Regions from separate parts of the Homo sapiens genome. Here region 2 is linked to region 1. Evidence: promoter capture Hi-C in 16 types of primary human blood cells and fetal thymus (Javierre and others, 2016). All regions are on one chromosome and are shown on one strand. Each heading gives the region's core, a stretch centred on a gene start or on the middle of the fragment in contact. The rest is flanking DNA. Distances are from core to core; before and after follow the strand shown.

Region 1 (6,452 bases), core at 3,711-6,210:
TGAGTTGAATGTCGAATATGGAGTCAGCAAAAACTTAGACTGTGGGAAACCACAGATCAAATCTCCGTAGCTAAGCAGTAGATACACTGTAAGGAAAAGGATGGAGATGGAACCTATTGATAAAAAGACTTAAAATATCAAGTCGATACGCTTTTTTAAAAAACGTGCAAGACTATAACATCTAAGGATGTACATTTGGGTGATAAACTGTAAAGAAATGCAATGCAGGCTGAACTCGGTGGCTCACACCTGTAATCCCAGCACTTTGGGAGGCTGAGGTGGGTGGATCACCTGAGGTCAGGAGTTCAAGACCAGCCTCGCCAACATGGTGAAACCCCATCTCTACTAAAAATACAAAAATTAGCCAAGCGTGGTGGTGGGTGCCTGTAATCTCAGCTACTCAGGAGGCTGATGCAGGAGAATTGCTTGAACCTGGGAGGTGGAGGTTGCAGTGAGCCGAGATTGTACCATTGCACTCCAGCCTGGGCAACGAGACTGAAACTCTGTTTCAAAAAAAAAAAAATGCAGTGATTACTATGAAAGTCAGGGTAATGGTCACCTTTGGGAGAAGGAAGCTGGTTGGGGGCAGGGCAGAATCCATGGAGGGGCCCTGGGGTGGCTGCAAAGTTCTATTTCAAGACCTGGGTAGTGGATACAAAGATGTCTGCCTTTGAATCAACAACATTGAAACAAGTCAACATTTGTTTTGGTTGATTTTCTGCATCTACGTTTTATGGTGTGATTTTTAAAAAATCTCTATTGCAGTGTTTGGCAAACTTTTTTTGAAAAGCCACGTATTAAATATTTTAGGCTTTCCAGGCCAAGAGGCAAAATCGAAGTTGTTATGTAGGTATTTCTTTTTTTAGTATTTATTGATCATTCTTGGGTGTTTCTCGGAGAGGGGGATGTGGCAGGGTCATAGGATAATAGTGGAGAGAAGGTCAGCAGATAAACACGTGAACAAAGGTCTCCGGTTTTCCTAGGCAGAGGTCCCTGCGGCCTTCTGCAGTGTTTGTGTCCCTGGGTACTTGAGATTAGGGTGTGGTGATGACTCTTAACCAGCATGCTGCCTTCAAGCATCTGTTTAACAAAGCACATCTTGCACCGCCCTTAATCCATTTAACCCTGTTTCAGAGAGCACGGGGTTGGGGGCAAGGTTCTAGATTAACAGCATCCCAAGGCAGAAGAAATTTTCTTAGTACAGAACAAAATGGAGTCTCCTATGTCTACTTCTTTCTTATGTAGGTATTTCTATAACCAGTTAAAATGTTTATCTTGGAGACCGAGGCATGAGGAATGCTTGACACCAGGAGTTCAAAACTAGCCTGGGCAACATAGCAAAACCCTATCTCTTTCAAAAATAATAAAAATAAAATAAAAATAAATAAAATGTAACTACAGTATTTTTTTAATGCATGAGGATAAACCTCTAGAATTGAGGCCCTCAAGGGTCCACCAATACTTGAATTCCTGATCCGGGGGCTCCACCAGCCATCGGCGTGCCCTGATGACTTTGCCAGATTCCCATGGTAACCGCTCCCCTTCCACCCTGGTCCACATTAACCTCCACGGCTCTAAGCCACAGGCGGACGCAATCACCACCCTCACTTCCCTAAGAAGCTGGGGGAAGGAAGGGGGCGAGCGCTCTTGCGCACGATGAGCTCCCAGCTACACCCACCTACTCTGGGTGAGCACCCCTCCCAGGAGAAAGGGAGAACCTAAGGGCACCTGAGTCTTAGGCCCCAGGACCAGGCAAAAGAACGTTTCCTAAAGCCTGTGTCCAGACTCCCCTCACAAGTCCTTTACTACACCCTTGTCACTCAAGGTATGGTCTAGTAGACTAGCAGCAGCAGCAGCATCACCGGGAGCCTGCTAGAAATGCAGAATTTCACCTACTCCAGACCTACTGGATCATAGTCTGCATATGTAACAAGATCGCAGGAGATCCATATGCATATTAATGTTTGGCAAGTGTTGGTTGCTTTCACAATCCAGATAAGCCAATGCCATAAATAAACACATCAAATCAGAAACACCTGTCGTAGGCTGACTTTTTAACCTAGACGCTAAAAGACTGTTTTTATGATTTATAAGAGGAAATTCCCAAAGTTGAGTTCCCCATGCTTAGTAAGAGTGAAAATTCCCTTTGTCTTCTCTGACCATCAATCCAGGACAGAATGTCTCACTGATCTTGGGGTCCTGCTCTCAAAGCCAATCGGGAAATCAGAAAGGACACTTTCTACTCCTAGAATAAGAGTGTTACATCTTTTAAACAAGGTGAAAGGGAGAGCACAAAGAATGGCTGGATGCCTTGAACCTACCAAGATAAGTAGGTCGAATGGCAACGTAAGGGTAAATCCCACCTCCAGGGAAGATAAAGCACCACTGTCTTAAACAATGAAAGGAGCACCCCAAATGTTGCTCACAAAACCCAGCTGAGTAACTCGCAAAAAGCAGACCCCATTTGCATGTTAAACCTCAAAATGAAATTCCCATAAATACTAAGACAGTGGATCAGTACCCTTCAGAGAAGTTCCCAGGATTGGTAACTTCCCTGTCTGATGAGTTTTCTCCACCTCCATCTATCTTGGGAAACTGCAGTCCTTCAATTTAACTTCCTCATCAGATGACAGCTGCAAACCAGAACAGACACGTCCCAATCCTAGATGAACCGCTTTGCTTCACTGGGAAATATTAAAAAGAACCTAATGATTCACCAAAGAGCACCACATTTAAAGAAAAGAAAATTATCATTTTTAGTGGCAAAGACAAAATTAGATGAGAGAAAAACCTACTTCAAACAGAAAACAACTAAAAACATTTTTCTAAAAATCCATGGTACATGCTACAACATGGATGAACCTTGAAAATATTATTTTATGTGAAAGAAGCCAGTTACAAAGAACCACATATTACATGATTCCATTTACATGAAATGTCCAGAATATACAAGTCTGTAGAGACAGAAGGTAGATTAGTGGTTGCCAAGGGCTAGGAAGGATGAGACGATTGGGGGTTAATGGCTAAAGGATTTGGGGTTTTATTTGGAAGTAATGAAAATGTTCTAAAAGTGATTGTGGTGATGGATGGGCAACTCTATGTAAATATACTAAAAGGCATTGAACTGTATACTTTATTTAAATGGGCGAATTGTATAGCATGTAAATTATATTTCAATAAAGCTGTTTTAAAAAAATTATATGGCTCCACACTAGATCCATGTTTGGAGTTTCTAATGTAACACAATGACTTTCTGGGCAAAATCTGAAAAAAAAAAAGTTGATGTCAGTACTGAGTAGAGGCCCTGCCAGGTTTGTATGGCAAAACACTCCCATCTCAGTTTGGGAAATAATTTCACAGTCTTGTCTAAAGATCATCAATCTCAGCTGGGCGCAGTGGTGCATGCCTGTAATCCCAGCACTTCGGAAGGCTGAGGTAGGCAGGTCAGCTGAGGTCGGGAGTTCAAGACCAGCCTGACCAACATGGAGAAACCCCATCTCTACTAAAAATACAAAATTAGCCGGGCGTGGTGATGCATGCCTGTAATCCCAGCTACTCAGGAGGCTAAGGCAGGATAATTGCTTGAACCCGGGAGACAGAGGTTGCAGAGAGCCGAGATTGTGCTATTGCACGCCAGCACAACAAGAGTGAAACCCCATCTCAAAAAAATAAAAAAGTCATTAATCACACAGAAATCCCCAGCTGGCTTTAGCTTTCTGTTCCAGAAACACTGGAAAAACCAAAACAGGCCAAACACACTTTCAAAACAACACCTTTAATCTATGTGGGCAAAGGGAGAAAAAGGGGATCATGGAATAGGAGTTATAGGTGCTGTCAGAACACAAAGTTAAGAATTTACTATCACTATAGAAATTCAAGTCCAATGTAGATTCCGCAGAGAAACTATGTATACAAAGACCCCAAATAACTTAACACACACAGAATCGTGGCTAAAAGAGACCACCCTGATGGCTAAGGCCTTCTCGGTTATTACACTGACCTCAGCTCTGGAACCTCTATTGAGTTTTAGCTTTGGCAGATTCTCTTCTGTCTTCCCAATCTGTTTAATTTCCCAAGCCAAGGGCATCATGAGAAGCCCCATGAGCACCCTGATTGCATCCACAAGGGCCTGTTGGCTTCAGGGTCACAGCTGTTACTATGGAAAGACAGAAGGGAGAGGTAGAACAGGTATATCTCTTATCCTAAACGAAAACACACAAAACCTTAGGGCATTAGAAGGCTTAGAGAGTGAAATCTCTGCAGCTATTAGCCAACAGCTTCCTCCTGCCTTGACGACCTGGATTCTCTCTGATCCCCAGGCAAATGAGAAGACCAAATGTTAGGCAATTAATAATATAGCAGATGCTGTTTGGCTTCTGTGTTCTCCTATAGACTCCTGCTTCACGGGCAAAAATGGCCGTGTCTGATGCCAAGGTCCAAGGAAACTGGCAAATGCCTAGAACAGTGCCTAGCACATACTAGGTCTTCAATAAATATTTGTTGAATACCTCTTGAATGAATGCTGATACTCCCCTGTCACTCTCTGCCTTCTTCCCTCAGCCTGGAAAAACACACACAAAACACACACACACACACACACACACACACACGAAGTTGAATCCACACCTGTTTATTGCAACCCCATCTGTAACTTTGCAAAACTAATAAGCACAACAGCAATTACTGCTAGAATACGGATTTCAGTGGGCAGGGCATTTTGTCAATTTTGTACCCTAAAAGCCCAAAACAATGCCTAGCACATAGTAGGCTCTCAATGAATATTTGCTTAATGCCGAATGAATTAAGAGCCTACTATGTGCCGGGCGCTGTGCTAGACTCTGCCAGCGACCCAATCGATCGCTTCCACCCCGGCGGCAGAGGCCGCCCCCTGAGTCCTCCTACCGCCAGGGGCCGCTGTAGGAAACGCCTGGCTTCCTTCCCTCGTCACTCTTTGACCACGTAAAGTCACTGCCCGGAGCTACGATGGCAGCGTCAGTGGCAGCTGCAGCCCGGAGGCTGCGGCGGGCCATTCGAAGGTCGCCCGCATGGCGGGGCCTCAGCCATCGGCCGCTCTCATCGGAGCCCCCTGCAGCCAAGGCCTCGGCCGTGAGGGCCGCCTTTCTGAACTTCTTTCGGGACCGCCATGGCCACCGGCTGGTGCCCTCCGCTTCCGTGCGGCCCCGCGGCGACCCCAGTTTGCTTTTTGTCAATGCGGGCATGAACCAGGTGAGGGCCGAACCATACTGATAGGGAGCGGAGTTCGTGAGTTTTCTGGTGAGAAAGACGCTGCAGGATTGGGCAAAAGAAGCGAGAGGCGGAGTTCGTAGCTTTTGGGGAAAGAGGGCGGTGCTTGGTTGGGTAAAGTGATGGGGGTACGGCGCTCAGAGTATAGGGAGGGCTTGGGGAGGGCTTGAGCTGGGAACTTCTGGATTGGGATTGAGTATTAGGTCCAGAAATGGCTGGAGTGGAATCCCGAGGGAGAAGTCTGATTTCATTTATTCGTTATTTAAATAAAGATAACGCTTTCATTAAATGTTTATTGATCACCTATTGTTTGCTGAGTACTATTCTCTAAGGTTTTGGTTTTTATCAACCACTCATCTTTTCTAGACTTCATTGTCCTCATCTGTAAAATAGGGGCGGCATAAGTTAACCTTAGAGGCCGTCTGGGCTCCCTACTAAATGAGTCTCAGTTTTGTTCCCTGAAGTTATTGGGTGTGGTTGAAGAAGCTGAGACGGAGGATGCCACCTTTCAGCGTCCCATTTCCAGCTCCCAACACATTCCTCCTTCTTTTACCTTGCCTATTTTACTAGGCAGAGGGTCTCCGGTTCATGATTTGTTTACCTCTTCTCTGCTCCCCACACACCAGAGATGGCTGTCCCGAGGCTCCCAGTTTGTCCTCATAGACCAAGATTACACTGCACTCTCAGGGGCACAGTCAGCCTTCGGTCTGAACAGCCATCCCTATCCTCACTCCCCACATTTCCCTTCTACTGAGAAATTGGATATCCCTCTCCCCCTCCCCACTCTATGTGCTTCCAGTTCAAGCCAATCTTTCTGGGCACCGTGGATCCACGAAGCGAGATGGCAGGCTTCCGACGTGTGGCCAACAGCCAGAAATGTGTGAGAGCTGGAGGACACCATAACGACCTGGAAGATGTGGGTCGAGACCTTTCCCATCATACCTTCTTTGAAATGCTTGGCAATTGGGCCTTTGGGGGTGAATATTTTAAGGTGAGTCTCTGGGGATCAGTGATCAGCCAAGAAGGGAGTCAATTTGTCCTGTTTCCATTGTACTGTCTGCTTAGGCAGGGCCTCATACCAGATGTGGAGGCAAAGTGCTAGTTGAGCCGGTGTAACAGGAATTACCTCACCTCCCTGATTGGATTGTAAGTCCCTGAAGGGCAGAGACTGTACTTTCTGCCTAATGATCACTCAAAAATTGTTGTTT
Region 2 (5,595 bases), core at 680-3,179, 490 kb after region 1:
TCAGACTGAGGCCCCCTAAGGACGGGGCTGTGTCTTCCCTCAGACTGAGGTTCCCTGAGGACAGGGCTACATCTCCCCTCAGACCGGGCCCCCCTGAGAAAGGCTGCATCTCGCCTCAGACTGGGACCCCCCTGAGGATGGGGCTGTGTCTCCCCTCAGACTGGGGCTCCCTCAGACTGCGGCTCCCTGAGGACACAGCTTCATCTCCCCACTCAAGTTGGGGGCTGAGTGATAGAAGGAGGTGGTTTTCCTCGTCGTACTGGAAACTGGGAGCCAAACATAGAAGTTGAAGAAGACTAATTCCATGCCATGACCAGAAAGAACTCACTTTTTTTGGTCATGTAAGTGGATTATCTTTATTGAAAATAAAATAAAACCCTTACATACATTCTGGATATCAAATCAGTTTCAATTAGGTGTTCAAGCTCATTTACTCTGAAAACATCTTCATCTACCAGGAAAAAATAAATAAACAGTTAAAATTTCATCTCACTTGTTTTTCAAATTAGGTAATATATCCTCACAGTTCAAATATCAAAGTAATTATCCTTGAGAATTCTCACTCCCAGTACCCGCACCCCCCCCACCTTCCCATTCCCTCCACCACATGTAATCACTTACATTAGTTTCTTACGTATTTTTTCAGTGTTTGTTTATGCAAATACAAATAAACACTAGTGTTCTCCCCTCTTGGAGAGAACTTTCTGATAGCTAACTAGATGGCATCCAGTCAAAATCCCAGCTTTGTCTCCAGGCTGTGATGCTGACTCCTTTGGCTCTCACGTCCCTCTCCTGGGCTGGGGTGACAGCCACAGCCCTGCTTGCTGCGAGAAGGAGGAAGTGTATGTGACAGCCCAGCGTCTGCAAGCGCTCAGTACGTGCTTATTGGTTTGGGTTTCTTTTTTAAAGAAATCATCTGAACCCAATCTGTTTCCCATCCCCTTAAGTTTGGCTGAGCTGGCTTGTTGGCAAGTGGATTTGGAGAGAAGAGCTCTTTAAGTGAAGAGGGTGGGTTGTGAGTGGGAGACTGTAAGAAGTGGGGTGAGGCCATTGCAAATGTGGAGGCAAGTGGCACTCCTGAGGTCTGCGGGTTCTGAGAATCTCCCAGCAAGGAATCCTGGTCCTGGGAACAAAAGTCATGCCCATGTTTCCCTGGCAGCTCAAACCCTGCAGCCTCAGAGGCCAGGTTTAAAGCCCTATCTAAGGTACACAGCATTATCTCCATTCCTCCCCGTGGGGGAGCCCAGGCCTCCTGGAGGGCCTGGCTCCCACTGCTTCGTTAATATTTACCATAACTGGAAAACAGCAGGCACACACAGGCATGGGCTCCCTTCCCAGACAGAAATGTGCACTCAGCAAATCACCCCTGTGGATCCCCAGGAGCCCCTTCCACAGCTGGGCGGGCACCAGTAGAACAGACTAGACTGGTGACATCAAGTCTCTGCACACCCACTGGCAGCCCTGGCTCCTTCATGCAAGGGAGGACCAGTGAGACAGGTGACTGACCAAGACCCCACCATCCATACACGCGGCTGTTGAGCATTTGAAACATGGCTGGCCCAAATCAAGACATGCTCTGGTGTGGAATACATGCCACATTGTGAAGTGTTTGCATGAAAAATAATGTAAATTATCTCAACAAGTTTTCATATATTGATTGCAAGTTCACCTGTGCATTTTACTTTTTGATGAGGCTTCTAGAAAATTTTAAAATAGAGATATGGCTCACAGTATAGTTCTATGAGACAGCACTGACCCAGAGTGCTACGGGAAGTGTAGTTTGGAGGCTGCCCTTTGCCTTCTGCCTGGCGCAGGATATAATCACCACACCGGCTCCAGCTCCTAGAGCCTGTCCTGTTCTCTGAGAACAGGAGCCAGGTCTCCCTTCCCTCCTAATTTTCCCTGAGCGCCCAGACGTTTGGGAGCAGGGATAGGCGGCGATGTGAGGAGCCAGCCAGTCACGCTGTCTGCCAAGTCAGTGACAGGGTAGCGCAGGGAAGGCCAAGTCCCCAGCCCTGTGGCCACCATTATAAGCCTCCTCTGTGCTGATTAGTGATCAAATTAGAAGTTGCTCATTTCCTTCAGGTGGATTTTAGAGGAGGCATTGTTTCCTCAAGACTTAAGATTCAGGCATTCAACAAGGTGTAGATGAGAACACACCTGGGTTGGAAATGGCTTGGAATACTCAAAGATTACAAATTTTCACATAGAATTCACAAATAAATGTAGGAAAAGGCATGGCACAATGTCTGTCTTCTTCCGTCTTCCACTCAGCCTTGTCCCATCATTTTTTATTGTTTTTGTAGAGACGGGGGTCTCATTATGTCGTCCAGACTAGTGTCGAACTCCTAGCCTCAAGCGATCCTCCCCCTCGGCCTCCCAAAGTGCTAGGATTGCAGGCGTGAACCACTGCAACTGGCCAGCATTCCACCATTTTTAGACACACAACCCACCTAAGTCCCTTCCTCCTAGAAGAGCTCTTCTTGCAAAAGAAGGTCCCCCAAGTCCATTCTTTTCCAAGCTCAACATTCTAGTTCTTTACCCATTTCTCACGAAGCCTCCTTTACAATTATTTAACTCCCTGTGTGCTCCTTGAACAGACTCCACTGTGTCTCCCACCTTACTGTCCCCTAGCCGAACCCAGTTCCCCTCATTTGGACTTGCTGCTGCTGAGCCCAGGGGGCCAACCGCCTCTCTCATTCTGGATACGATATGTCCATTAACCCACCCTATAATTGCCTTGCTCTTCAGATTACTACACATCATTGCTGACACACAGGGAGTTGTCAAAATTCTCTAAGTCTTTTGCACTAGGTACATTTACCCTCTCTCATTATGTAGTTGGCATTTGGGACCTGGAAATGTCACCTGGTATCACTGTGTCCTCTATTCTTCCTTGTATCGTGGCCACCTGTCTTGGTTCTTCTGAGTCCTGATTCTCTCACTGATGGCTCGCTTTTCCACCCAGGGGGAACAGAATCACATCTAGGCCCTCGTCGGAATCATTAGCTAGTGGTGGGTCAAGTGCTCACCCCCACCACTCTTGGAAAGTGCTCTGGTCAAGGTACCAGTCCTACGATCAATCCTCAGTCCTCATTCCACTTGGCCTTTTGGCACCATTTGTCACATTTGGCCGCCCTCTTTTTTTTTTTTTTTTTTTTTTTTGAGATGCAGTCTTGCTCTGTTGCCCAGGCTGGAGTGCAGTGGCACCATCTCGGCTCACTGCAAGCTCCGCCTCCCAGGTTCACGCCATTCTCCTGCCTCAGCCTCCCAAGCAGCTGGGACTATAGGTGCCCACCACCACGCCCAGCTAATTTTTTGTATTTTTAGTAGAGATGGGGTTTCACTGTGTTAGCCAGGATGGTCTCGATCTCCTGACCTTGTGATCCCCCCGCCTCGGCCTCCCAAAGTGCTGGGATTACAGGTGTGAGCCACCGCACCTGGCCCACCCTCTCTTATGGAAAGGTTTTTTCACTTGATTTTCAAGTCATCACACTCTCTGGTTTTCCTCCTTCCTCCCTGGATGCTCCTCCTTAGCCTCCCCTGCTGGCTTTTTCCAGCTTCTCAACTCTTCAACACTGGGATGCCTCATGGCTTGTCCTTGGACCCTGGTCTTCCTTATTTTCATTTACTCTCTTTTCACACCATCAGCAAAAATATAGGGAAAAAGACCCCCTCAGACATTCAAAAATGGCCACAACTTCTATGAAATTTGGAAATTTGACAATACCTGTAAATATTAAACACACATACATTCTTTGGCTCAACAATTTCACCTCTGAGTATTTATTCTACAGAAACACATACATATCACATGTATCAACCACGTGGGAAGTGATATATAGACATACAACCCTGTTGACAACTCCCTGTGTGTCGGCAATGATGCATTATTCACTGTGGAAATCTTGATAAGAGACAAAGACTGGAGACTTTCGGAGGCTGGTTGAATCCATGATGAGGCATCTATACCACGGTGCTCCACCAGCATGAAAAGAATGAGGCAGCTTCACATGCACTGCTATGTAAAAATCTTCAAGACACATTGTTAGAGGAAAGGAAAGTTAGAGTTTTTAAATGGCAAGGAAAATATGCTACAGTTTGTTTTTTTAAAGGGTAGGTAGGTAGATTAGATTAGATAGATAGATAGATAGATAGATAGATAGACAGATAGATAGATAGATGATAAATGAAAAAGATTATATAGATCATAGATAATAGGTAGATGAAAAGATAGATGAAAAAGATTAGATGATAAATAGATAATAGATTAAAAATAGATGATAGATGATGATAGATATATAGAAAGACAGATTCATATAGAGGAACTGTTTGGCTAAGAGTGAAGGGTGAGAGGAAGACTTTTCATAGTATACCTTTTGTGCTTTTTGAATTTGATTCAATGGATATTTCTTATCTATTTCTCAACACTCCTATTTTTTCAGTTGACCTGACACAACTAGTTGTGGGGAGCCCATGCTGGCTCCTGGTGACCTCTTTCCTTTTCTATTGTCTTTTTTTTTTTTACATTTACTGATGTACCATAAAAAATATTACAAATGATACAATGAAGAGGTGCATAGGGCAAGGTATGTGGGGAGGGTCACGGAGCTTCCATGCCCTCCCTGGGCTGGCCACACTCCAGGAACCCCGTGTTCAGCTATCCGGAAGTTCTCCGAATGCTGTCCTTTTGGAGTTTTATGGAGGCTTCATTACGTAGGCATGACTGACAACTCCGTAGAAATATGATTGGACAAAAAGAGTATGATCTCACACTAACATACAGAGTAGGAACCCAGCAGGGCCTGTCTGTTTGGATTCTTCTTGGCCTCTCTGTGCAGCATTCTTTCCTCCAGAGGATGGGGCAGGACCCTCTCTGGAATAAGGGTCTTTTGACCTACAATCAGATTAGAGTCTTGCCTTGGGCAGGTAAAAGGAGGACAGGAGAAATTTAGAGAGCAAGATTCTGTAAGCACCCCAACATTATGACAACCATGTTATGACAACCATGTATCAAAGGCTATGTCTGTATCAAGATTGTATCAAAAGCTATGGGAATTATGAGCCAGGAACCATGGACAAAACCCTACACACACACACACACACACACACACAATCGTAATATCACAGGCCATTCCCTTGTTTTCAAACATGAATCCTTCACATCAAAAGAATGTACAACTCAAAACATACTGCCACATCTGCTCAGTTCTGGGAATTACTTTTAGTTTAAAAAAAAGAAACATACTGCCACATTGCGAGAATCCCATTCAGTCATTAGTAATTAGTCCAGTCAATCATTGTAAGGTACGAATATGTCTCCCAGGGGAGGCCACTCAGGCTTGTAGGCTTCCTTTCAATCTTGTCAGGTTCCAAAAGCATGAATGGTCTCAGCAAACATCGTTTTCACCTTTTGGGCATCTGTTATAATTGAGCTAAGCAATAATGTCGTCACTTGCTCTGAGTCTCTTTGAAGGTGTTAATGTAATGTTGGACTTCCCTCCATTTATAACCCATTTGTTCATTCCTTTACCCTCAGCTACTGTTTCTCCTTCTCTCCATTAATACCCAAACTTTTTCACCTTTGGAAGGGAC

The links. Contacts are between HindIII fragments. The CHiCAGO score rates a contact against its expected background, and 5 or more counts as called.
Region 2: a fragment that was not itself captured here is called in contact with the fragment with the promoter of AARS2 in region 1 in 1 of 17 cell types (neutrophils); the score reaches 5.5 in neutrophils.

The regions. Positions count from the first base shown.
Region 1 is chr6:44,311,855-44,318,306 of GRCh38, reverse strand. It overlaps AARS2 (alanyl-tRNA synthetase 2, mitochondrial), which reads left to right and starts at 4,960. Exons shown (of 22, transcript NM_020745.4): 1 at 4,960-5,226; 2 at 6,044-6,235. The coding sequence starts at 4,984. It overlaps LOC124901322 (a long non-coding RNA gene), which reads right to left. Exons shown (of 3, transcript XR_007059594.1): 3 at 3,760-4,156. RefSeq lists an enhancer at 4,656-5,215. The HindIII fragment of the contact is 8,838 bases long and covers 1-6,452 here.
Region 2 is chr6:43,819,873-43,825,467 of GRCh38, reverse strand. The region is part of intron 1 of LOC105375070 (a long non-coding RNA gene); the gene reads right to left. Among named protein-coding and RNA genes, the nearest start is that of LINC02537, 30 kb to the left of the region's middle. The HindIII fragment of the contact is 7,431 bases long and covers 1-5,595 here.